Regions from separate parts of the Homo sapiens genome. Here region 1 is linked to region 2. Evidence: promoter capture Hi-C in 16 types of primary human blood cells and fetal thymus (Javierre and others, 2016). All regions are on one chromosome and are shown on one strand. Each heading gives the region's core, a stretch centred on a gene start or on the middle of the fragment in contact. The rest is flanking DNA. Distances are from core to core; before and after follow the strand shown.

Region 1 (6,346 bases), core at 2,802-5,301, 160 kb before region 2:
CAGATCTCCTCTGGGGAAGATATCAGGCAGTGGACTTGTGAAAACCCCTGAGAATCTTGCAAGAGAATATTCTGAGCCTTTCACAGTAATCTAAGGATGTGTTTATTGACAGATATGGGGGGAAAGCCTGCTTAAATTCATATGTGTAATATGATCCCACTTATGGGAAATATATATATATATATATATATATATATATTTTTTTTTTTTTTTTTTTTTTTTTTTTTTTTTTTTTTGAGACAGAGTCTCACTCTGTTGCCCAGGCTGGAATGCAGTGGCACAATCTTGGCTTACCGCAACCTCTGCCTCCTGGATTCAAGCAATTCTCCTGCCTCAGCCTCCTGAGTAGCTGGGATTACAGGCGTGCGCCACCATGACTGGCTAATTTTATATTTTTAGTAGATATAAAAACTATATTTTTATATTTTAGTAGGGTTTCACCATGTTGGTCAGGCTGGTCTCGAACTCCTGACCTCGTATTGTGATCCACCTATCCCAGCCTCCTAAAGTGTTGGGATTACAGGTGTGAGCCACTGTGCCTGGCTTTTTTTTTTTTTTTTTTTGAGATGGAGACTCACTCTGTCACCCAGGCTGGAGTGCAATGGCATGATCTCAGCTCACTGCAACCTCTGCCTCCCTGGTTCAAATGATTCTCCTGCTTCAGCTTCCCCAGTAGCTGAGATTATAGGCACCCGTCACCATGTCTGGCTAATTTTTGTATTTTTAGTAGAGACAGGGTTTCACCATGTTGGCCAGGCTGGCCTCGAACTCCTGACCTCAAGTGATCCACCTGCCTCGGCCTCCCAAAGTGCTGGGATTACAGGAGTGAGCCACCACACTGGGCCTGGAAATACGTATTAATATGAATAGATGATGCATCTATTGCAGTAGAATATACTGCTATATGAGACACATGAGTATGGTCACACATTGCATAACAAGGTCTCTGTTGTATGTATGGTGCATATATGACAATGGTTCCATACATTATAATGGAACTGAAAAATTCCTCTTGCCTATTGACATCGTAGCCATCATAATGTATCAAAAGGCATTACTCACGTGTTTGTGAAGATGCTGGTGTAAAAAACCTACTGTGCTGCCAATTGTATCAATATATAGCACATGAAATTACATACAGTACATATTATTACTTGATCATGGTAGTAAAGGACTATGTTACTGGCTTGTATATTTACTCTACTTTTTATCATTATCTTAGAATGTATTCCTTCTACTTTTTTTTTTTTTTTTGAGATGGAGTCTCGCTCTGTTGCCCAGGCCGGAGTGCAATGGCGTGATCTCGGCTCACTGCAACTTCTGCCTCCTGGGTTCAAGCGATTCTCTTGCCTCAGCCTCCTGAGTAGCTGGGACTACAGGCATGTGCCACCATATCTGGCTAATTTTCTGCATTTTTAGTAGAGACGGGGTTTCACTGTGCTAGCCAGGATGGTCTCGACTCCTGACCTCGTGATCCGCCCACCTCGGCCTCCCAAAGTGCTGGGATTACAGGCGTGAGCCACTGCGCCCGGCCCTTCTACTTATTTATGTTTTTTTTAGAGGCAGGGTCTCACTCTGCTGTCCAGGCTGGAGTGCATTGGTGCAATCATAGCTCAATGCAGCCTTAACCTCCCGGGCTCAAGTGATCCTCCCACCTCAGTCTTCCAAGTAACTGGGACTATAGGTGTGTGCCACCATGCCCAGCTAATTTTTGATTTTTTGTAGAGACAGAGTCTCACTATGTTGCTTAGGCTGGCCTCAAACTCTTGGACTCAAGCCATCCTCCTGCCTTGCCCTCCCAAAGTGCTGGGATTACAGGCATGAGCCACTGCACTCAGCAATGATCTGTTTTGTTTACTGCTATATCTCCGTTGTTAGAATAGTGCCTGGCACATAGTAAGTGTCCAATAAATATGCGCTGACTGAATAAATTGAAAGATATTTGTATATAGAAACACCTGGAAGGTTAAATACTAAAATGTAAATAGTGGCTACTTCTAGGTGACAGTATTTTAGAAGAGTTTTCTTTTTTCTGATTTTATTTTATTGTCTGTTGATTTAACATTTTTAATTCTGAATATTATTTATATAAAGAGAAGGAAGCACCACAAGGCTTAGGATCTTCTCCCTCTACATCTTTTTTTTTTTTTTTTTGAGTTGGAGTCTCACTCTGTTACCCAGACTGGAGTGCAATGGTGCGATTTCGGCTCACTGCAAACTGCCTCTTGGGTTCAAGAAATTCTCCTGCCTCAGCCTCCTGAGTAGCTGGGAATAGGGGCCTGCACCACCACGCCTGGCTAACTTTTTGGTATTTTTAGTAGAGACGGGGTTTCACCATATTGGTTAGGCTGGTCTTGAACTCATGATCTCAGGTGATCCACCCACCTCGGCCTCCCAAAGTGCTGGGATTACAGGTGTGAACCGCTGTGCCAAGCCCCCCTCTACATCTTTAAAACTACAAACTTTCTGCCGGGAGTGGTGGCTCATGCCTGTAATCCCAGCAGTTTGGGAGGCTGAGGTGGGCGGATCACCTGAGGTTGGGAGTTGAAGACCAGCCTGACCAACATGGAGAAACCCCATCTCTACTAAAAATACAAAATTAGCCGGGCGTGGTGGCACATGCCTGTAATCCCAGCTACTCCAGAGGCTGAGGCAGGAGAATTGCTTGAACCCGGGAGACAGAGGTTGCGGTGAGCCAAGATCGTGTCAATACTCCAGCCTGGGCAACAAGAGCGAAAACTCCATCTCAAAACAGACAAACAAACAACAGAAAAACAAAACAAAACAAAACAATAAAAAACCAACCAAACAACAACAAAAAAACCCTATAAACTTTGACTTTAAGAAGCCAGGCAGTGGGTGAGACCTGCCTGTTCTACCCCCTCTGCTTCCCCACCCAACATCAGCCTTCCTCAGTTCTCCCTCTCTCTGCCCCTTCTTCACCCACAAGCTTCAGCTGGCAGGGCTCGCTGGGCTTTCAAGCCACCTTAGCAGGCAGAGTCATTGGAACAATGGATCAGGCTGACTCAGGAGCTGGGAGAGGGCCCTGGGCCATACAAGCACCCTCCCCACCTGTCAGGTCAGGCCAGCAAGCAGTGCCTCTGGGGCCAAGGGAAACTGGGCTGATGTTGCAGCAGAAAGGAGTGAGGTTAGACCTGAGAGCTTCCTGATGGTAAAGGAGGCTGCAGCAGGTCAGGGAGGTCACAGAGCCCGTGTTCTTTCCTGGAGGGCAACAGGTGCACTCCACTCTCCCCTAGACGGGATTATTCGTTGCCATCTGAAGCACCCGGCACAGTGCTTGGCACTGAGAAGTGCCCAGTCAATGTCGATGGGTGGATAATAGTATGAATGAGCTTGTCTGAAGTGGGGTGTTGAGGTCCCCCTCCCTGTGTCTCCATCCTAGTCTCAGGGTTTGTTCCAGGCTGTCCATATTGCAAGATGAAATGAGTCCTGGCCTAGTGGGCTCTAGTCCCATCCTTTTTATGTGTCCTTGGCCTGTTGCTTTTCCTCTCTGGGCTTCAGTTTCTTGTGCAGTGAGACAGCGTGTTGGACGAGATGATCTGCAAGATCTCACTGCTCTGCCATTCTGCACTGGCAAGTGTTACGCCCCTGTGGGATGCTTTTGCTGTTGGCTTGCTCTAGGTGTGTGTTACTTTGGTCTTTTTTTTTTTTTTGAGACAGAGTCTTGCTCTGTCACCCAGGCTGGAGTGCAATGGCGCAATCTTGGCTCACGCAACCTCCGCCTCCCGAGTTCAAGCAATTCTCCTGCCTCAGCCTCCCAAGTAGCTGGGACTACAGGCATGTGCCACCACACCTGGCTAATTTTTGTATTTTTAGTAGAGATGGGCTTTCGCCATGTTGGTCAGGCTGGTCTCGAACTCCTGACCTCGTGATCGGTTCACCTTGGCCTCCCAAAGTGCTGGTATTACAGGCGTGAGCCACCATGCCCAGCCTACTTTGGTCTTCTTAACTAGAGTCTACGTTTCCCAAGGGCAGGCATGAATCTGGTATTGTTCTGTGTTGCCCCAGCACCTGCAGCGCTGGGCCCTCCTGCCTGGCTGTGCCCAGCATGCCGCTGTTTGTGCCCCCGAGCCCAGCTCACTCCACCCTCCCTAGCCCCGACCAGCTGTGTCACTGTCATGACCCAGAAAAGGTGGTTACCTGGAGGAGGGACCTGTGGGTTTTCCTTTTGAGGAGTAGGTGGGCTTCAGGGAAGAGCACATCAGCGGGTTTAGGGATTAGATTAGATATTAAGAGAATTTCCTCTCCCTTCCAGGATAGATTGGGAGAGATGCCTCAGTTTCTTGTTTCCCTTTTCTAACTCTGCTTTTCATTACTTCTCTCCTTTGGAAAAGTTTCCCAGACTAAACCTCTATGTTCTATCCCCAAGTCCTGACACCTAACGCTGCTCCTGTTTCTGGTCTTATTTTCTTGGGTTTGTGTGTGTTTGGGTGTGGGTACCACTTCCTCTGTCAGGGAATTTCTGAAACTTTTTTTGAACAGTGATCTCTAATAATAAATTCATTTTATATTACAGTTCTGCATGCGCGCACACACACACACACCCCAAACAAAATTTCATGGTGCAATATTACCCTTACTACCTGTGATGCACACTCATGTGCTGGTAAAGACTCATGCAATTGATTTCACAATCCACTAGTGGGTTGTAGCTTGCAGTTTTGAAAATACAGATCTCCTCTCAGATGGAAGTTCCTTGAAGACGGGCAGAACCTTACTTCCAACACCCAGGGCACAGCACTCAGATGGCCATGGGAGAGATGCTGGCGAGATGGTTGAGTGGGAGGGAGCTGGTCCATGTAATCCCCCACCCTGTCTCCCAGTCCGGGAGTTCCTGCTGCAGCTTCGACTGAACATCCTCAGGGTGTAAGAATCTTGGCAACTTTCCCCTGGAAGTTGCTCTTCACCCTCTGGGGTATTGGGAGGCTGTCCTTAGTAACAGGCCTCATAATATTTGCCAAATCAGGAGCTGTTGCTAGCAGCAGGGCACCCAACTGGCTGAACCTGATTGGGTCAGGGTTGCAGTGGCTGGGTACTAAGCCCTGGATGGGTGTGTCTGGACTCTCAACTCAAGTTCTTGTCTGAACACTTCCCTCTTCCCCTCTCAGGGTCCCCCAGAGTTGGAAGCTTTGTCCAATCCCCTTCCTCTCTCAGGCACCAGCAGTTTGTTCCTGGATGTGTGTTCCTGACTCCCAGCCTGGGACAGTCTCCCTTTCTTCACCCCTGGCCCATGGTGTGCTGGGCCTGCTTGAGCAAACTCAGGAGACCTGATTGTGTGCATCTCTTCCCAGCTCTGCATTCAGTGACATCATGGTGGCAGCTTGAAATCAGCCATGGAATATTTGCACCACGGAAAATGGCAAACACTACAGAACAGACTTATCTTCCCTCCCTGACAGAGAGCCCCTTGTGTAACAATAACACGCCACTGCCCCATCCCTGAGCAGAGTGCTGTGTGTTGCAGCAGAGTGGGAGCGGGTGTCCTCTCCCTTGGGCTCTCCCCATAGCCCCCAGCACCAGGGAAGCTTCTGGTCTCTTTGTTATACAGGAAACATGTACATATACATACTACATGAAGGCTGTACAGTGTTCCTGGGAAGACTATTGGGGCGGTGTATGTTTAGAAGATCTGGGTTTTCATCCTAACTTGGCCTCTTTCCATCTTTGAGATCTTGGACAATTGCTTTATTTCTGTGTCTGTAGAGCAAGGAAAAATAATACCCACATCTCAGATTGTGGTGAAGATAAAAGAAGATGAAGGATCTGCACAGGCCCAGCACAGTGATTGGCACTCAGAGAGTTCTCAATAGTATTTTTATTTATTTATTTATTTGAGATGGAGTCTCACTCTGTTGCCCAGGCTGGAGTGCAGTGGCGTGATCTCTGCTCACTGCAACCTCCACCTCTGGGGTTCGAGTGATTCTCCTGCCTCAGCCTCCTGAATAGCTGGGATTAGAGGTATGCGCCATCACACCCAGCTAATTTTGTGTTTTTAGTAGAGATGGGGTTTCACCATGTTTGCCATGCTGGTCTTGAACTCCTGGTCTCAAGTGATCTGCCCTCTTTGGCCTCCCAAAGTGCTGGGATAACAGACGTGAACCACTGCGCCCGGCCCCCAATAGTATTTTTTAAAGTGTGTTGTAGAACATGATCATGTTAGCCACCATGGGTAAAAGGGCCATTATTATTCCAAAGTTTGGCATCATCCCTCACTCCCACCCTCAACTTGGAACTTGGAGACATATACTTCAGTTCTGGACTCCCAGGCAATGTTTTGCTAATCCTTTCTCTCCAGGGTTTCTGCCTTAGGAATGCCCTCCTTGTA
Region 2 (6,389 bases), core at 116-2,615:
CTATTGCACCCGGCCTTCTGCATTCTTAATTCTTATGAGTTCACAGCGCAGACTCCATCATGTAGTCTGCCCTTTCCCTTTAATATGGTACATAGTATCACAAGTGGTTGCCGGTTCTGCTGCAGAGTCTCCAACAAGATGATTTAAAATAATTGTATCCAATTGGGCAAGCCATCGCTTAGCCATTTTTCTAAGGCTGGAGAGTTTTTCCCCAAGTTAAAAAAATTATTATTACATTTTGGATGAAAGCCACAGCTATTTGAGTCCAGAGGGAAAACGCACATTTTTTTGTTGGCGGACACTGATGCTCACTGAATGAGCTTTTCCCCAGGATGCTGTCTGGGACGTGCTTCTCAGAGGGTGAGCACAGATTAGTGCTGGTCTACCGTGCTTTGCTATTGCCTTGTGGTAAGCACAGAATTTGAGAGTAACCATTTAGAAAATTATTATTATTGTTGCTATTTTTAGCAGTTAAACAATGTTTTGTTTGCTGAATCTAAAAATAAAAAAAATTTGGGCTTGCATTTTGTATATCTTTTTTAAAAAATTATCTTTAGGAGGTAATTCCTTTAATTCTATTTTACAAAAGTATTGTCTATAAAGAACCGGAAATGATAAAACAGAAAGAGAGATAGTTAGGGATGGTTTGTCTTCTGGTCTAGAAGACAATATTAGGTACTGGTAGATGCTCAACAAATCTATAACCACAGACTTTTGGTGCTGAAGTACCTTGTGTGGTTTTGTGTTTGAGAAGTCTGAGGCTTATCAAGCAGCACACAATGTGAATGACCTTGGGCAGAATCTGTGGGCCTCCACTTGTACTCAGTGACCACAATATTGCACTTCCATGTGATAAAATTTTGGGTGCTCATGGTGATGATAACTGCAGGGAGCAGAAGCAGTGTGTGGGGAGATTGGAACAAAACTTTTGCCCCACCAGGACGATGCTGTGACAGAAAGTGTTTCCACCTCTGTCCCAGCTATGGTCCTGAGGTCTCTAAACACCATCTAACTTTGCCCCAGATCTCCCAGGCACATCCCAGAAACAAACAACTCGATGGTGGAGTTTCTTAGGAAGAGATGAACTGATGATTTGGGGAGAATCTGTATAGAAGTTTCCAGCAATGAGATCCTGAGAGATTCTTGCATTCTGATCTCTAAATGGCAAGAGATGAATGATAAATGATCGAGTTGGGGAAGTTTGTCTGCAATCTGATTTCTGCAACTCACAGGTGTGAGGTTTTAAACAGATGTTGCTGGCAGGCAAACTAAACATTAATACTCCCCTTTCAGGATTGTAAAGGTGCCCAGCCCAGTAATGTGTGTGTGTGTGTATATATATAGAGCCGGAGCCAGATCTTTTCAAAGGAGTCAGAGCTCCTTTCCTCTCTGGTCTCTGCCTCCTTCCTGCCAGGCTCTTTCTCTTGCCTGCTTCTCTGGATGCTCCAGCAAACATGAGCCACCAATTTAGTTCTCAGTCCGCGTTTAGTTCAATGAGCAGGCGGGTTTATAGTACCAGCTCTTCTGCAGGCTCTGGTGGTGGGAGTCCGGCAGTGGGTTCTGTGTGTTATGCTCGAGGGAGGTGTGGTGGTGGTGGATATGGGATCCATGGAAGGGGGTTTGGCTCTAGGAGCCTCTACAATCTGGGTGGCAGTAGAAGCATCTCCATTAATCTAATGGGGAGGAGCACCAGTGGTTTCTGCCAGGGTGGGGGAGTAGGGGGATTTGGAGGGGGCAGAGGCTTTGGGGTTGGCAGCACCGGGGCTGGTGGCTTTGGAGGAGGTGGTTTTGGGGGTGCTGGATTTGGGACTAGCAATTTTGGGCTTGGGGGCTTTGGTCCTTATTGTCCTCCTGGGGGCATCCAAGAGGTGACCATTAACCAGAGCCTCCTAGAGCCACTTCACCTGGAGGTGGACCCTGAAATTCAGAGGATCAAGACCCAGGAGCGGGAGCAGATTATGGTTCTCAACAACAAGTTTGCCTCCTTCATTGACAAGGTGAGCACCTCAGGGGCAGGGAGGGTCATTGGTCACTGACCAAATGACTGAGAGAGATTACACCTTACCACCTCTCACCACATCGTGCTGTTTCAGCTTGACCTGGGACCTTAGAAAATCATTTACCCATTTGGGCTTCAATTTGTCTTCTTGCAGGGATTTAATTCCATCTTTTCCTTTTGGCAGGAAAGGAGATAAGCAGTGTTAAAATACTCAACAGATACATGGTGTAGTACCCTCATTCTCATTCATAATTATTCACTTTCCATCCACCCATCCACCCATGCACCCATCTATCCATCCCCATCCACACAATCCATTTATACACACACACACAAACACACACACACACACACACACACACATCCATCCATTCACTTATTCATCAATCCACCCAACTATCCACCCTTCCGTCCATCCATCCATCCACCCACCCATCCACACAATCCATTTATACACACACACACACACATGCACACACACACACGTGTTCATCTGTTCATTCACTCATCCATCAATCCATTCAACTATCCACTCATGCATCCATCCACCCATCTAGCCCACAAATATTTTCTAAGAATCTATGATAGGCCAGACATCGTGCCAGGTGCTACAGGTGACTAGGACACAGGTCCTGCCATCAAGGAGCCCACGTCTAAAGGGGAGAGAATTACTACAGTGTATGTGAAGTGTGTCAATAGGGGTAGTACTCTCTGGGCCATGGTAGCTCAAAGGAGGGTGTCATGAGCTCTGCTTGCTGAGTCTGGAAGGCGGATGAAAAGTTAAATGGGTTCTAATTTTAGTATATGTGCTGCCGAAGTGAGCACGAGTTAAATGGGTTCTCAGGGCAGAGGGGATTTTCAGGCAGAAGGACCAGGAGGCATGAAAGCGTGACGCGTTTAGGGAATTTCAAACAGTTACAATTCCTGGAGAAAATGGGATACCAAGGGGTGGAGGAGAGAAGTGGAGATGAAGCCACAGAGCCAGGGCAGGAGAAGCAGGCAGGGCATGGTGAATGCCCTGGTGGTGGGTATCTCTTGGGGCTAAAGTCAATAGCATGCAATGTAGGGTTCTGTCTGAGTTTCCCCTTTTGGCTCATCAAGGGCCAAGGATGGGCCAGATGGAGACACAGAAGCCCCTGTCCCTAGTTCCCTGTTGAAACTTCAGATTAGGTCCAAAGCAGCAGCAGAGGCTGGAGAACTCGCCATGGTGAAGACCTCCCTCCAGCATCTCCTTTTGTCTGGAGGTCGAGGCACAGCGGCCACTAGCACCTCCCCAGGAGGAACTTTGCCTTCAGGGATGCAGTGGGAAGCCCCACAGAGCACCAAGGCCGCTTGCACACTCAGTGACTTTCCCTCAGTCCCCACGGGAGTTCAGTGCTGAGGCCAGAGCTTGACCTGTGGCCTGACTGCAGGGTAGCTGTGGCTAGAGGCCATACTGGGTGGCAGGGCAGGCCTCTGATATCTGAGCAGATGCTGGGGATGGGACAGTGTGTGAGCGGGCGGAGGAGGGTGAGAGTGCTGAGGCCCAGAGGCTGCCGAAGAGGAGCGCAACACAGCAGCGTGCTCCCGTGGCTTCCGATCATGCTGCGTGGGAAATTTGGCTGAGTATCACCACGCTTCAGGCAAAGGCAGGGGTTAGAGGGTTTCACTGGAGCAAGGAGTCACTACTCGGAGGTCACGGCTGGGCCAAGAGAGGAGCAGGGAGGAGAAAGGGCTGGGAAATGACCACAGGCCGCTGGCAACTGACCTCCTGAGGCTCATCTGATTATGGCCCCTGCCATGAACAGGGTCTGTCCAGTTGCATGGCATAGGGCAGTGGGCAGAGGCTAGGGTGCAAGAGACCTGGGCCTCCTGTCCTTCGAAGGGCATGGCCTATGATGACTATGAGGAGAGGCTTCTCAGCCAGGTGGGCTGTGGCCTGGCTGGAAGGAAGAAGGCTTCTATGACAGGTGACTTCTGACTCTGCTTTCCAAACTGGTCTTCCTGCTTTCACCCTTGACCCTGTATAGCCTATACTTGACACCACAGCAGAGCCATCCTTTAAAAGCATGTCACGACACTCCTCCATTTGAATCCTCCAGTGGCTTCTTGTCTCGACTGAAAGAAAAGCCCAAGTCCTACAAGGCCCTATATTACTTGCCCTTCAACCCGCAGCTGCTGCTAAGCCCACACTTGCATTTGTGGAATCAGGCCACGTTGCCCTCACTGGGTGGAACAGCTTTCGGGATACAATGGCTAGTAAGCAGAGTGAGGCCTGGAAAACAGCCCCCAGGCTTCCAACTCATTGTTGTCTGCAGCCTCCTGTGCCCCTCTGCCTCCTCTCCTGCTCTCTTCTTGCTCACCAGCATCCAAGGCTCAGTTCTGTCTCAAGGTCTTTGCACCTACCATTCCCTCTGCATGGAACTCTTCCCCCGAGAGAGAGGCCCACCTTCCTCCCTCACCTTCTGTGGGTCTTTGCTCAGATGCCACAGTTTCAGTGGGGCCTTCCCTGACCACCACTTCAGTGTTCCTATGCCCCGGCCCTGTGTGACTCCATAGTCCCTGCAGCCATCTGAGGCACTGTATTTTTTACATGATTATTTCTTTATAGTAATCTCTCTAAATAGAATGCAAACTCCTGGAAAGCAGGGATTTTGCCTGTTTTTTTTATTACCAAATCCCTAGCACCCAGAATAGTGCCTGACATATGAGAATTGCTCAATAAATAGAAACCGGATGACAAATTGGGTCAGCCCCTCAGGGGTCAGTGCTGGACGCTCAGAGAGTGGAAATGGAGCCAAAGGCTTTCTAGAACCAATGACAAGGGGACAGGGCCTCAGAAAGGAAAGGAGGGTTTCAGCTCTTACCCCTGGGACACTGGCCTGGCCTTGATCAGCTGACCCTTGGACCTCTATGCTAAGAGTGGTGAGTGGCCTGGATAGCCCACACCAGCAGGCAGTTCTAAAACCTTTTGCACTTCATGAGTGCATGACACTTTTTGTCTTCTCCGTGTTGGGCATTGTGTGTCCATGGGTCCACTGTGTCCCCTGGAGAACAAAGTAGACATAGGCCTGCCCTCATGGGGTCCAGTGCAGCCCGGGAGAGAGATGCTCACACACTGTCACATGACTGCAAGTCTCAACAGATCTAGAAAGGCAAGGAACAAGGGGCTGCAAAGGGGACACACTGGTGGGATGCCACCTCAGCTGAGGTCTAAAGGATGAGCAGGAGTTTGCTGGGCAAAGAGTTGAGGAGACCTGGGGTGCTGAGGGCACTGGGAGGTCCCTGTGCAGGGGAGGAGCACTGAAGCAGAGGGTGGGCGAGAAGGTTGCTCAGCAGCATGCCTCATTCCATCGGTGCTAGCTGAGCTGCCCTTGAGTTTTGCTGGTGGGACACAGACCAGGAGTGTTTTGGGGAACCTGGGGAAAAACACAGTGGCTTTTACTGATTGTTCTAGTGGTTAAGGCACTCCCTGCATCCAGACTCTGCCTTTGCAGTTTGGGTGGCCTGATGAGAACCACAGTGTCTTCTATGAGCTCCTGGATATTGCGGATGGGTACCTGGGCTAAAGCCAGAGCACCCAGAGTTGTGTCACTGCTCCCTCATTGTTTTATGTGGAGACTCTCCATGGGACCACAGGATTCTTTCTTTTGGTCCCCACAATGCCACTGCCACTGAGTGCAGTGAATGAGTCCTGAATTGATTTCTTCACTCCCTGGGAGTGCCACCACAGAGTAAAAATAGAGAGTGGCAGGAATTTCTCACGGTGTTGTGAGCTGTGCTGACAAGCCTGGGAGAGCTGCTTGCCTAATCTCTTGCTTTGATAAGGTGAGCAAAAATGAGCCATGGGAGGTTGTGTTGTCTGCAAACATTTTCCAGCCTAGAGTCAGAATCCAAAGGGAGCTAACCAGGGTTGGCCCCTCAGAGGGGCGGAGTCTCAAGGGCCGGGGGATTTGGAGGACCCTCACTAGTGTCACGTGGTAGGGGAGTGTCTTCAGGGTTCCGTTCTGACCACACAAAGCAGTGGGTTTGCCCCTTTACATGGTGCCCAGAGGAGGAAGCAGGATTCTGGAGGGTGTGTGTTTTTGGGCGTGTGCGCCTGCATGCGGCCGAGCAAAGTCTGGAGGCAGCATCACTGCTGCTATCAGGGCACTGGAGCAGAGGCTCCACAGTGTCTACCTGGCTGAGGAAAGGTGGAGGCTGGTCATTACCATGCCAAGGACAAGCCGCACACTTTGCACAGCCAGCCGCCTCCCTGGGCCCCGCATCTTACCTCCATATCCACAGTTTTGGGAGAAGAGGTGGTGAAAATATTGGGTGATGTCCACTCTCCATTTCCCGGGAAATAGCAAGTGGGTAGTTCTCAAACACCTGACAACCCAAAGTCCTCACTTTGGGGCACTTGAATGCA

What was found. Contacts are between HindIII fragments. The CHiCAGO score rates a contact against its expected background, and 5 or more counts as called.
Region 1: a fragment that was not itself captured here is called in contact with the fragment with the promoter of KRT77 in region 2 in 1 of 17 cell types (non-activated CD4 T cells); the score reaches 5.8 in non-activated CD4 T cells.

Annotation. Positions count from the first base shown.
Region 1 is chr12:52,858,932-52,865,277 of GRCh38, reverse strand. No RefSeq gene overlaps it. Among named protein-coding and RNA genes, the nearest start is that of KRT78, 13 kb to the right of the region's middle. The HindIII fragment of the contact is 2,198 bases long and covers 2,953-5,150 here.
Region 2 is chr12:52,698,500-52,704,888 of GRCh38, reverse strand. It overlaps KRT77 (keratin 77), which reads left to right and starts at 1,365. Exons shown (of 9, transcript NM_175078.3): 1 at 1,365-1,997. The coding sequence starts at 1,455. RefSeq lists an enhancer at 3,123-3,292. The HindIII fragment of the contact is 9,521 bases long and covers 1-6,389 here.